2 separate regions of the Homo sapiens genome follow, and region 1 is linked to region 2. The links are contacts of gene promoters, found by promoter capture Hi-C in human tissues and cell types (Jung and others, 2019). All regions are on one chromosome and are shown on one strand. The core of a region is centred on a gene start or on the middle of the fragment in contact, and the rest is flanking DNA. Distances in the headings are between cores, read along the strand shown. Region 1 has its middle 9.2 kb from the start of LINC02695. Region 2 holds the start of SYTL2 (synaptotagmin like 2).

What was found. Contacts are between HindIII fragments. The study calls those that stand out against the background at their distance.
Region 1: a contact is called between a fragment that was not itself captured here and the fragment with the promoter of SYTL2 in region 2, in 1 of the 25 tissues and cell types used here (liver).

Annotation. Positions count from the first base shown.
Region 1 is chr11:86,180,837-86,187,811 of GRCh38, forward strand. No RefSeq gene overlaps it. Among named protein-coding and RNA genes, the nearest start is that of LINC02695, 9.2 kb to the right of the region's middle. RefSeq lists a cis regulatory region at 2,947-3,221. The HindIII fragment of the contact is 5,124 bases long and covers 1-4,393 here.
Region 2 is chr11:85,806,890-85,814,128 of GRCh38, forward strand. SYTL2 (synaptotagmin like 2) reads right to left here and starts at 4,252. Exons shown (of 20, transcript NM_206927.4): 1 at 4,065-4,252. RefSeq lists a silencer at 4,211-4,390. The HindIII fragment of the contact is 9,754 bases long and covers 1-7,239 here.

The DNA.
Region 1 (6,975 bases), core at 582-3,081, 370 kb after region 2:
CTTTCCTGGAGTTTTCATGCTACCAGGGGAGACAGACAAGAGACAATATGAATACGTGAAATACAACATATAATATGCTAATTACAAGTGGTAAAGAGAAAAATAAAGCAGGGAAGGGGACTAGCAAATGCTGGGGAACAGATGTTGTGATTTCAGATAAGGTGGCTAAGGAAGGCCTTGCCAAGTAAGTAACATTTGAGTAAAGACCGGAAGCACAAGAGAAGGTGAACAGTGTAGACAACTGAAGAAAAAGCATTCTAAGCAGAGAAATAACTGTAAAGGCCATTGTTGTGGGTTGAATTATTTCCCGTCGCCAAAACATATGTTGAAGTCCTAAGCCCTGGTACCTGTGAAATGTGACCTTATTTGAAGACAGGGTCTTTGCAGATCAAGTGAAGATGTGGTCATTAGGGTGGGACCTAATCCAATATGAATGGTGTTTTTATGAGAGGACACAGAGACAGAGAGACACAGGGAATATGCTGTGTGATGACAAAAGAGAGATTTAAGGGATGCAACTGCAAGCCAAGGAATGCCGAGAGTTGACAGCCATGGCCAGAATCTCAGAAGAGGCAGGCAAGAGTTCTCTCCTACAGGTTTTAGTGGGAGCATGGCCCTGGTTAACACTTTTCACCTCCGGAACTGTGAGACAGTAAATTTCTGTTGTTTTGAGCCACTCAGTTTTTGGTACTTTGCAATGGCAGCCCTAGAAAACTAATCCAGCCATGAAACGGGTATGTGCCTGGCATGTTGAAGGAAGATGGAGGCCAATGTCACATGGGAGGAAGTCATAGGAGATTGGATCAGAGAAGTTACACAACAGATGGCGAGATCATGTGGCACCTTATGGTTGGAGATGTGACATGATCTGACTTACCCTTTAACGGGCTCACATATAGTTATAACTGTGTGTTGCATTCATGGCTGAAGGGAGATGTATAGAAGAACCCAGACAATATTACATACACTAGATAATCATAAGAGGTATAGAGATAGGTGCCAAATTGTGTAAATACTAAAATCACCGTGCTTATAATTAAATCTTTCATTTGCTCTTTAGGTGTATTTTAATCTGTAATGTTAATGCATAACTAATTTTTAAAAGATGAAATTAAAATTTTTATTTTCAAAAACAGACTCTTAGGTGGCAAAGCATGAATTTGCTGACCTCAGGTGAACACATTAGTGACTATCTGGGTTGCTCTAACCATAATCATGGCATACCCCTCACCTGGTGTCATAGACAAGGAGACCCATTGGCTAGATTCCCCTTCTAGGAAGGACTTGCTATTCTGTCAGGGGAAATATGGTCAGCAGACAGCCTTCAGCTCCTTCAGGGTTTGTCTCTGTTGCAGAGAACAGGCTATCTTGTATATGGTTCAAAGACAGAGAAAAAACTGAGTTAGCTTAAGAGACAGGAAATGTATTTATGAAGGATTAAGTATATCTCACAGAACCCAACCTCATGAAGGACTGGAAATGGAAGAAGATGGTCTCCCTGTTTCTGTATCTCTCATCATCATCATCATCACCGTGTTCTGTCTATACTTCTTATGGTAGATCAACTCTCACAGCTCATCAGATGACATGACCCAAAACGGAAGTCCCAAAATGTCACCCTCTGTTGCCCTTATTGTCTGCCACCATATAGGTCCAGTGCCTGTAGCCAACTGATCCTATCTCTCTAGATTCTCAGGAGAGATGGTCTGACTTGGCTCTCTCTTTGGTCAGATGTCCACTCCTAGCCAGTCAGCTATAGCTGGAGACTGGGTCATTTTGAATGGAAAACTGCCCTTCTTCCAAGGCTGTGGATGGAGTTTATTTTCTAAGAAGAGATGTGATGTTGGGAAGAATATGCAGTGCATCTCTAGCACAAAAATCCTCACAGCTATGATATTGTAGGAAAAATGTTCAACTTTGAAGCCATGGGATCAGTTTTGAGTTCTTGTTCTGCCATGTATTAATTGTATGAACTCTAATGGGGTCAATTAAACTTTTAAGCCTCTGTTTCCTCAACTGAAAAATTTCACATTTTTTGAGATGGGCACTAGGCTATGCACCAGCAATATAGAAATAAAAGATACAGTCCCTGCTAGACAGATGTTCACAGTCTAGCAAAGCAGGCAGGTAGGAAAGCCCAATAACTACAGTTCTAGGTCCATATGCAGTGATGGAGAGAGCACGCCTGGGTGAGGTGCCCTCCTTGAATGCCCCAGTGTGTGGGTGTGTGGGCATGCACGGTGTGGATAGAAGAGAAGAGGAAGGGAAGAGAATGGGGGAAAGCTTCCTAGAGGAGGTCAACCTGGGGCGGGAACTTGATAGGCAGGAGATAAATGTGGGGAGGAGGAAGTATACCCAGGCAAGGAGAGCACCATGTGCTGAGTCACAAATACGTGAAGGAATGTGGTCATCTCAGACACATGTAAACGGGAGGGCAGGGCTGAAGTAAAGAACTGCATCTGGCATGGAGCCAGGCAGGTGTGGTGGGGTGGTAAGAGATGAAACTCCTCTGATTGAGAAGGAAGACATGTGGGCAAGCGCTCTGAAAACAAACAGTGCTACAGACACAACAGTGGTGAACAGGGAGTGTTGATTATGTGAAACCAGGAGCTAGGCTACTTGGTGTCATGAACGTGTCTCTCTATGAGGCAGGAAATATAATCTTCATTTTACAGGGCCTTATTGAGTCATAGTCCCAAGGTCTCATGGTGTCTTGGTTTGGGTTCTCTCAGAAGTGGACGTTGAGAAAAGGATTCAAGCAAAGGTAGTTTATTTGGTGGACGATCCTAGGAAACCCCAGTCAGAAAGTGGGGAAGCGAGGTGCAGAAGAGAAGGAGCCGATAAAGTGTGTGCTATCAAAGACGTTACCACTGAGGGTACCTGGAGCTCAATCCCACTGGGAAATGTGGGAAGACAGAGAGGAATATGCCTCTGAAGTATTTCCCCCAAGAGGCAAGGAAGCTGGGGTGTTTCTCTCCAAATCTCCATCTGTCACTGTTTGAGGACTATTTCTCAGATATTAACTCTGGAAATCCCAGCTTCCCTTGCACAGGGCCCCAGCGTGCTCTTCAGGCAGTGAGTCACAAGGGTTCTCAGTAAGCAGACTTCAGGGTGCACAGGGGAGGGCTGAGAGGTTATGGGCAGAACATTGACAGCATGTGCTATGCACAAACAGTGAGGAGGGGAGCAAGGGCTTGGTCCCAAGCAGCCTGGCTTAGGTTTAACAACAGTATTATACTCTTTCCCAAATGTAGAGTATTATTAATATACATATTTATACTGATACTTACAGTACTTTTCAGAAACCATAGTATTGAGCCTAGAATAGAGGGAGTCTGTTGTCCTCATCAATGATTGACACATAATGGATACTTAATGAATATTTTTGGATGAATGTTTTAAAAGTCAAAACATAACTAATTCAGTGTTATTTACCTATAAAGAGCCTTTGGCTGGGAATCAGAAGATTTGGATTGTAGTTTGAGTTCTGCCATCAGTTTGGGGACCTCAGGGAAGCCATCTAGACTAATTGAGCTTCACTTTTCTCATTTTAAAACCTCATTTTATTACCCACCCCACTTGCCTACTGTTAGAGTTGTGAGGATGAAATGTAATAATGAATGTGAAAAGTTAAAAGTATGGCAAACTAAGGAGTAATTCTGTATCTCTGCCTTGATTTTGAATCAGGAAGAAGTGGGCCTTTGGTTTCCCAGGACCCAGGACCATGTACTGTGAGGCCACCAAGTCCATCAGTCAGGGCTCTTTGTTGTAACAGGTGCTAACTCTGACTATCTTAGTCAAAAAAGAGTTTATTAAAGAGATAGCAGGATGATCACAGAATTGATAAGCAGTCTAGAGAATCAAGCTAGGAAAATGGACAGGAACTGAAAAAGAACCATGGGGAAGACCACACCTCAGAAACATCCTGGTGAAAATGCTGCTTCCTCTCCCACTGAGCAGTGGACACCAGTGCTGCCACCAGCACAAATTCTAAACCGTCCGAGTTTCTTGGGTCATTTGCTTCAAACTTAGAGTCTCAGGCAGTAATATCAGGGGGGCCAAGATTAGGTCATATGCTTGTGCGCCAGCTGCCAGGGACCCAGGAGGCCAACCGTCTGGCCTGTTTTCCAGCTTCCATCAGGGGAAGACACATTCTACCTCCCAGCATGTCTCATGCAATGGCAGTTTCCCCAGACACAGGAAGGGGGCTCAGACGCTGGGCAGCCAAGAAGAATGTAAGTTCCATCCAAGTCAGAATGTAGGGAAAGTGAGGATACTGGTTCAAAATTGAAAAACCAAGATAAAGAGAAGGTCATGTTTTATTGAGTAGCAACATTGACTTGAGGCTTTATTAACCAGGAACTGTTCAAGGTGCTGGGTACAAAGAGGACTTTGACACTGGTACTGGCCTCAAGGTGCTCTAGCCAGTTAGGAAATGTATATTAAAATAAAATATGATAAGAAAGGGCTATAACTGAGATGTAACAAAATTCAACAGGAGCACAAAATAAAGGATTAATGCTGGGGATCATGTGGGTGGTCAGGAAAGTTTTCACAGAGATGGGTCTTGAAGGACGGAAAGAGAGAGAAATGAAAGAGCATTAGAAGCAGAGCCACCTCTGGTATCTGTTACTCTTTCTAACCAGCCAGAATCTGGGTCCGGTATTTCCTGCTCAGTCCTTTCCTACTGCCACCAAGCACAACACATATGCTACTACAATTAAGGTCTAAAATTAGTATGATTAAGGTCTAAGCAATATGAGGGTATTGTTCAAGCCAGGATTTTCTTCCTTGGCTCTCCCCAAACTCTCTAGTGCAGAGTGATGTTGGCAAAAGTTATTGCTGCTTTTGTTGTTTTTAGCTATTTTAGATGAAAGCATATACTCAGACCTGAGTTTGTTTGTTGGCTTGTTTTTTAGATATGGTGGTCTTACTCTGTCATCCAGGCTGGAGTACAGTGGTGCAATCATAGCTCACTGTAACCTTAAACTCCTGGGCTCAAGCAGTACTCCCACCTCAGCTTCCAGAGAAGCTAAGACTATAGGCACATGCCACCATACCCTGCTACTTTTTTATTTTTTATTTTTTGTAGACATAGTCTTGCTATGCTTCTCAGGCTCATCTCAAACTCCTAGGCTCAAGCGATCCTCCCATTTTAACCTTCCAATGTTGGAATTACAGGCATGAGCCACCACGGCCAGCTAGACCTGAGTTTAAATAATGGCTCAGCCACTGACTAAAATCTCTCTGAGCCTTGATTTCCTCAAAGATAAAATGGGAATAAAAAATACTTGCCTTCCAAGTATTCCAAGGACTTTTGAAGATTAACTTAGATAATGTTTGCAAAGTGCCAACGATTGGCAGTTGGCAGGTGCTGTTATTGCTGTTGGTTTGAAACAGTTCTTTGAAAATCTGGTGATGAAGAAGAGACCTTACTCTTCTTCCCCTTTGACCTCAGGGGTTTCATACAAAGAGTGAGGAGATTACAAGAAGGAAATGTCTTCCAAGAGAGAAAGAACCCAGAGGTTCTGCCAAAAATGTGAGACTATATGGGGGAAGCAGATATGAGCTACTTTCAAAGCCTGACTCCGTGGTGGGACTGAGAGCCTGGCTCCTGAGTCGAGAGAGGCTTTCCAATCCCACAAGAATGATTTCAAAAACAGCCCTCTTGGCATTACTGACATTTGCCTCTGCCCTTTTCAAGGAGGAAACAATTTACCCAGATGCAGGCCCGCTTAGGCTCCATTCTCTAGCAAGATCAAGCCAAGAACTTGGAAGGGTGGAGGACAGCACATTCATGAAGCCATTTTCACATACTGTTCCTGCACAGCCTTTGAAAATGTGTGCCTTGTAACAGGTTGAATAACACTGGTAAAATCGCATTGTGTCCATTCTGAATAACAAGTATGATATTTGAGAGGAATTAGCTATGGGCTGAAGAAATTTAATAAACAGGGAAGATACAGATGTGAAAATGCTGTGTGGCTTGGAACAGACACCAAATTATGTGGAGTATGAACTTAAATCTCCTTTCTGAAATTCCTGGCCTATAATTTAATAGTCTCTTCTTCCTAATAAACAATAGTGTTCTATTCCAACCTTGGACTTCTAGGTAAATTCTGACCATTCATTCATTAAACAGCTATATGTTGAATACTTACTACATGCCAGGCATTGCAATGGGTGTACAGGATCTTGATTCTGATTCTGGAGAAAGGAGAAGAGATTGTTTTGTAAACATTTAGGGCTTCTCCTTTCAAATGTTATTTGTGGGAAAGCATGAATGCCTCCCCTGTCTGTATATGGAGAAGATAATTTCATGTAGAATGGCGTAGTTCTGGTGTTTACTAGGCTCATCATCCCATCTGGGGGTAGGCCCAGGATTGGGAAGGATAGAGCAGCCATGCATGTTGCTATGGTAACTTGGCATTAACACACCTTAGCTCCTTTGTGTCACCCCCAAATTTCCTTTAAAACTAGTGTACATTTTCAGAATGTGGAAAGCTTTTCTTAATTTTCACGTGGCCAGTTATAAAGGCATTTTTCAAAGCACTCAGGCAAAAGGATGGTCCTTTTTTTTTGAGGCTGAGGCTATGCTGATGCTATTTTCTAAAAGCATAATCAGGATCTAGACTATCTTATTCTTTCATAGGAGATTGCACTTTCAAATCCCTTTCACATATGTTATTGTGCTTTTATTGCCACCTTGTTTTAACCTCCTGCTTAAGCTACTCTGAAGGGCAGGAAAATGAACCCACTAAATTTTTATGCCTCAAAATAACCATGTGAGGTAGGAACTAATACCTGTATTTTATAAATGAAAGAACTAAGGCTCAAACAAGGTCACATGGTTAGAAAATAACAGGATGAGGAGGAATGGAACCAGGCCTTTAGATTGCAGATCTGGTGTCTTTCTGTTATACCTTCACTGACTCCCAGTATCTTCCAGCCTTTGTTACTTTATAAAAATATAGA
Region 2 (7,239 bases), core at 3,002-5,501:
TGCACAGATTGTCTTTGCCAGATGCAGAAGTTGAAACCAAGCCACCTGCCTCCCAGTGCAGGGCCCATTGTTTCCTCAGAGCATCCAGGAGCACGGCGTATGCCTGAGAGCAGTCCTTGAGGCAATGGCTACTGGCACTCACATGCCCCCATGGGTACACTGCCTTTCCAGTGGCTCTCATTGCTTCCTCTTAGCAAGCCTCTGCCTTGCTTAGGGCAAGTCAAGACAGCTCCCAGGAGCTCTGAGACTCCCTGTGTAACTGAACAATTCCCTTGAGTGGCAAGCCTGCTTTCATTCTATAAAATGGGACTATCTTCTGTCCTCTTCTGTTCAGGATTGTGATGAGGATCAATGAGATACTAGCCACCAAGGAAACCTACATTCTTTGAAGAAAACTTGAGTCCCAATAGAGCATTTACATCATGATTAAGTCCTACTAATACCAAGAGTTGGATTCCAGGATTTTATAAAGACTGATAATGTTTTATTGCCTCTATGTTTAAACATTTTTAAAATATTAATAGCATACACACATGCATGCAATCCAAGTAACAAACAATAACACCTGACACTTGATCCTTATAGTGATTCTGGTAAGTGAGGATAGAATTTGTTTATTATCATCAATTTATAAAAGTGGAAACCAGCTCAGAGAAGCCATCTGTCTTGCCCAAGGTCACACAGGTAATAAAATGCAATGCTGGGGCAATGACTTTCTCCAGGACCCTCCTGAATTTTCTGCAAATTACTGTGCAAATTAGTTTTTTAATTTTCTGCTCAAATTTTGCACATCAGCAACACTAAAGAGCTACCTTTTCTGTTATATTTGAGATGTTTAGCAAGAGTACAGCTTGACCCTGCATTTTCAACAGCAGCCCCATGGCCCAGCACTCATCTCTCCCACAAGATAAATACAGGGAAATTATGAGGGGTGAACTTCGGGGCTCACAAACAAGATTAACCTTCATGATGCTTTTAATTATTCATGATTTTTTCTCTACATTCTGTCAAAAACAATCTGAGATGGCTCTTAGCTCTGACAATAATTCAGTCAAAAGGGCTGTATTTGTGTGTGTGTTTTTAAAATTTGTTAATATAGATGCAAAGAAAAAGATTTGGAACGCTATATCCCAAGTTTTGCTTTAATTATTTGAGTATAGATGTATTTATATCATTATTATTATTATTATTATTTGAGATGGAGTCTTGCTCTGTCACCCAGGCTGGAGTACAGTGGCATGATCTCAGCTCACTGCAACCTCCGCCTCCCGGGTTCAAGAGATTCTCCTGCCTTAGCCTCCTGAGCAGCTGGGACTACAGGCGCATGCCACCACGCGCAGCTAAGTTTTGTATTTTTAGTAGAGATGGGGTTTCACTATATTGGCCAGGCTGGTCTCGAACTCCTGACCTTGTGATCCACCTGCCTCGGCCTCCCAAAGTGCTGGGATTCCAGGCATTAGCCACTGCACCCGGCCTGATATTATTATTAATGTTAATCTGGATCTTATATTTTTTTCTACAATGAATATGTTTAGTTTTGGTAATAAGAAAATAAAGGATATTTTTATTTTTAAAACATTCTTCATTCTGAAAAATGGGAAAAAAGTGGATGTCTCCCCAGGGACTAGAGAAGCTCTATTACTGTGAACCAGAGAGTGGAAAATTCAAACAGTAGTCTAAGCCCTCTAGAACCTTGGTCCTACTTCTCCATCTGGGTACTCGAAGCCCCTAAGAATATATAACAATCTGCCAGGACACCAGTTTTATTCAGATATTTTGAAGAAAAAACTTTATATTTTTAAATCAAAGTCCATATATTATGAAATCAAATGAAAAAAATTGCATAAGCACAGGAGCATGTGTTGGTCTTCTTTTCCATTGCAGGATCTTCTATGGAAAAGTTTGGTAAGCCCTAAGACAAACATTATAATCTTATCCCCCCAACTTTTGAGAGAGTGACAACCTCATTAATACCAAGTAAGTTTTCCTCTTAATTTAAAAAAAAAAAAAGCCACATTTTTCTTCATCTACTGTATGTTTAAAAATTCTTTGTAAAACAGGTGACAAGCAAACATATTTCCAGGGAGCTCTGGAAGCCTATACAGGCACAGTTCACCCTACCTCCCTTGCCCAAAGAGGAGAAACACCTAGACTAGCATCTGGGTTTTGAAGATGGTGGAACCTGGGCTTCCCCTAGGCTGCCTCACATTTCTACAAGGCAGCAGACCACTCTGCACAAGGTGCTAATTCATTCATTCCACAAATGTTTATTGAGCAAAACCTGAAAAAGGCCTCTTAGGGGACAGTGGAATCATTCACCAGCCAACGGTTAGGGCTAACGGGTCAGATGTGGACAATCAATCTTTCATTAGACCCCAAACCACCTCTAGGATAAAGCAAACAGGGCCCTGCCCCACCCACGCACTAGCAGCTGGGCAGGATTAGGGTAGGCCTTCTAGAACAGTACTGCTGCTGAGAGGCTAAGGCAGTCACAGATTACCTCCAGAATAACGGAAACTCCTGCACCATAAATGACATAATAGCTCTAAGATGTTTTGCATAGTGCCTGACACCTGGTGAGAACACAATGTTAGACATTTTTGCTCTCCTTATTCCAGCTTGCTCTTACTTAAGGAGCACAAAGACAGTGTAAAGAACACAGGTTTTAGAATCAGAGATTGGATTTGAATTCCAGCTATGCTACTTCCTAGCTAAGTGACTAAAGGAAGCAATCTTTCTGAGCCTGTTTCTCACCTATAAAATAGGGTATAGTACATCACCCCTCATGTGGCTTTGTGAGAATTAAGGATATATTACATACAAAGAAGTGTCTGGCCCATAGTAAGTGCCCACTAAACAGCAGTCAACATTGCCCTGCTGCCGTCCCCACACCTCTTCTCCTTCCTAGCTGCTCTTGATGGGTTCTGCAATCTGATTTCACCTGGATACCACACTAAGGGTGAGAAGGGGCAGAACTTCAGGGGTGGAGGAAAGTGAGGGAAGGGAAATGCTGGAGACCTTCCATAGAAATCCAGCCAAGTCCTCAGCTCCTTTCAATCATCCTACTCTATCTGGCTGCTCCATCCAGCAGACAGCAGGGGTCACCATCCTGGTGGGGAATGGCTGCCAACAAGGGGACGGGAAGCTGGATGGCAGTTTGCATCCACCCCACCTTCCAGGGTCTATCTGTCTGAAGCCCCACCGGGCTTCCTCTGCACATCCCTGCCGGGCTGTGTGGCTCAGGGGGCTGACAGGGTGATTCATAGCCTGTTCTTATCTAGGCTTCTATCTCAACCCTGCGCCCAAAGCCCTGGAGGCTGCTGGTCACAAACCAGCACTAAATGAAAAGAAGAACTTTTCATTAAGGCAGGAAGTGGAGCCCCTCAAGGTCAAAGGGGATTTATAAAGAGAGGAGGAAAGAAAGGGAAGACGCGGCAGGATGGGTGCAGAGAAAGAGAGACCCACTTCCTATATGCTGGTGGAGCCCTGTGTCTTAGACGCTAAAAACAGTCGCTTTTCCACTTCAAAGGATGATAAAGCCCACTCGTGTAGTTTATAGCTCGCCGTGGGACGAGGTGTGGGTATGGAAGAGAATTCCAAAACACGTCTTATTTTCAAAGGAGAAATCATCATCCCCTGGCCGGCCCTTCCCAACACCCCACCTGTAAACAGGTGCTGACGCTCCTACCTTTCTGCACCTGAGCAATCTGGGGGCAGTTACTCTGCAGCCAGGTCTCCCCAGCACCCAGCCCCAAGCCCAGGTCAGTCCCTGAAAGCCCTAGAAAACGCGATAGCTCAGCAGAACCCTCGCCTACCCGGGCATCCCAGCTTCCTGGCCGCCTGGGCAGCGGAGGTGGCTCTGGAGTAGGTGGGAAACTGAGGAAAGGAGCTTTCCCCGTGCCAAAACGCAGTTCCCATTTTAGAACTGGTTAGACTAAGGAACAACATTCTACACCACCTCCCTCACTTAACAGAGGAGGAAGCAGAGACCAAGAGAGGGAAACAAAGTTGCCCGAGGTAACACAGCGAGTGGGCCAAGTAGAGACTGGAACCCGAGTGCGCACCTCCGAGTCGCTGCCGGGCAGGGAGCGCGCCTCGCCGTCTCTCTTGTCTTCTGGCCCCCAGCCCTCGGCCTGGCGGTGCAAACCGCGCAGCCCCGGGCGCGGCGCGTTACCTTCCCCCGGGCAAGGCGTTGCGAGCCTTCACTCTCCCGACGGACGCTGGCGGCACGGCCCGGGTGTCGCCCGGCACTGTCAACGCAGAGCGGCGTGCGCGAGTCCCTCCCCGCTACCCCCGCCCCCGGCGGGCGGTGCGGTGGGGCCGGTCCCGGGTGCTCGGGCCAATGGCGCTTCGCCCGCTCCCCGCCCCGGCCCGCCCCGGCCTCCTCGCCCGGCACACAGCGCCTGCCAGCCCCTGCCCTCTCCCCTTCCCTCCCTTCGCCCTCCGCCCCCGCCTGCTGCTTCTCTCCGGTTCCTAGCCTCCTTCTCAAGTGTACCTTGCCCCGAAACAACCTGTTTTCTGTGCAAATAAAGCAGCACTGTTGTTATTGTTATTATTATTTTTATCACGGCGCGTTAGGGGGCCTTGGAGCCCGAGAGTGTGGAGCACTAGGAGCCTCTGCACTCCGAGAAGGGACAGCCACCGCGCAGGGAAAGGGGCGCGGAGGGTATGGAGCCCGGTCATGGGGTAACTTGCTTTAACCCTCGGGACGTCAATTTCCTCACATGTGAAATAGAAGAAGGGGGGAAAAAAGTTGTTGAGAGGACTAAATGAAGTGATGCTTTAAAATACAATAATACCTAGAGAAAGGTGAGGGCGTCATGCACTGCCTGAGCTACTTACTGGGGTATGCACAGAGGACTGGTAAGCTCCTGGAAGACGCTGTGTGGCAGGGAGGCAGACAATGCAATACAGTAAATACAATATTGTGGTCGGGCGCGGTGGCTCACACCTGTAATCCCAGCATTATGGGAGGCCGAGGCAGGTGGATAACCCGAGGTCAGGAGTTCGGGACCAGCCCGGCCAACATAGCAAAACTCTGTTCTAATTAGAAAAGAAAAAAGAAAAATTAGCTGGGTGTGGTGGCGAGCGCCCGTAGTCCCAACTACTTAGGAAGCTGAGGCAGGAGAATCGCTTTAACCCGAGAGGTGGAGGCTGCCGTGAGCCAAGATCGCACCACTGCACCCCATCCTGGGTGACAGAGCAAGACTCTGTCTCAAAAAAATAAATAAAATAATTTAAAAATTGTATCACGACCTATTTTTTACAAGTTACCCATGATGGGGCCAGCCCAGGCAAACCTCTGAAGGAGATGAACCTTAAAGCCTTTTTCCTTATCATTTCCTGGACTAGTGTTGTCCATTTAACTGAGGGTGGCCCAGGTCTGCCTTTGGTTCTTCCAAAGGTCTTCCTTCTCCCAAACTTACAAATACTTATCCCCAAGGGCTTCAGTTAGTGCCCAGTGCAGGCTGCTAGCCTGGCCCAAGAGTCCTGGCACTGTGCAGAGATGTGTATTCTGGCTTCCTTCAGCCTTTGAGAGCCTGGTGTGTCCCTGTGCTGGGTGAGCATGCCACATGCAAAAGAGGAATAAGCCACTGGTCTTGCCTTTGAAGAAACAAATTTGTAAATAATTTCATTTTAGGGTAAGTGTTATAATAGGTTGACAAAGTGTTGTAGAGTCACTACGCTGAAGGAGGGGGACAATAAAAAATACAAATGTGACCAAGGTAGGTCTTGAAGGAGGGCTACAAATTAGGTCAGATTGAAGGGGTGACAGAAGACTGGGCACAGAGAGGCAGGCAGAGACATGGAGATGCCTGTCATATGTCACGGCTATTGCACAGGATTTGGGACAATGAGGCAGAGATGAAGCTAAGGAGGTAGGTGGGCAGATGTTGGAGGAGTGGCTGTACCTGCCTTGCTGAGGGAAGCAGGCTGTGTCCTGTTGGTGATGGCTGTTGGCGAATGATTTTAGGCAGGGGAGTAGCGTGACCTCAGATGCTTTTGGTACTTCACTTTTATTGTTGATTGCACCTGCCTTGGTTATCCCCTTCCTGCCCCTCTCTAGCTCTGGAGGGCAGGCACTGGGTCTTGCTCACCTCTGGGTGCCTTGTATCATCTGGCATAGGACTTTGAAGGAACTAAATACATGCTGTTCCCAGTATCACTCGTCCCCTGGAAACAAATAGCAATGCCTAAATGCTAGAGAGGGTCACAGGATCCTTGCTTCAGGTTGTGGGGCAGGCAAGTGGGGGAGAAATTTTAAGGCAGGGTCTTGTTATGGCTCCCAATTCATCTAAATCTTGTATGGCTCAGAGACTAAATCTTAGAGCTCTTGGCCAAGATCCAAATGCTGTTAGAAATGTCAATTTCTAATAAGACCTTAGACCAATTACTCAACCTCCCTGTGCTTCAGTTTGCTCATTTGTTAGAGAGAAAATAATTGCACTGCTCTCTCAGGCCTACTGTGAAGATTAAAAGAAGATGCACATGTTTAGCATGATGCCTTGCACATACAGTGCACTGAAAAAGCCTTGGTTAACACGATCATATCAAGTCAGCAATGGCCTGTTCCACTTATCCCATAGGAACCCTTCAAAATGGTTTACATATAAGTGACACTTAAACTTTAGAGAATTCTAGGTTGACATTGAAGGGGAAGGCAAGAGGGTAGGGATAGCATGGTGTAAGGTTAAATGCACAGACTTTGGTGTATCTCCTGGCTCTACCACAGAACTCGCTGGTTGACTTTGGACAAGTCACTTAATTTCCTTCTTTCTCTGGGTGACTTTAGACAAGTCTCCTCCCTCCCTCCCTCCCTCCCTCCTTTCCTTCCTTCCTTCCTTCCTTCCTTCCTTTTTTGGCAGGGTCTCACTTTGTTGCCCAGGCAGTGGCACAAACACAGCGCACTGCAGCCTCAACCTCCCAGGCTCAAGCCATCCTCCCACCTCAGCCTTCCAGGTAGCTGGGACTACAAGCACACACCACCACGCCCAGTTAATTATTGTATTCTTAGTAGAGACGTGGTTTCGCAATGTTGACCTCTTGAGCTGAAGCGATCTGCCCGCCTCAGCATCTCTAAGTGTTGGGATTACGGGCGTGAGCCACTGCACCCAGCCTAAGTCACTTAACTTCTGTTAGCGATTGTTCTTCTATAAAATAGAAGTAGTCATATTACCTGCCCCATGCCAAGGAGATAACACATAACACATATAGCATATTGCCTGGCCCAAGGTAAGA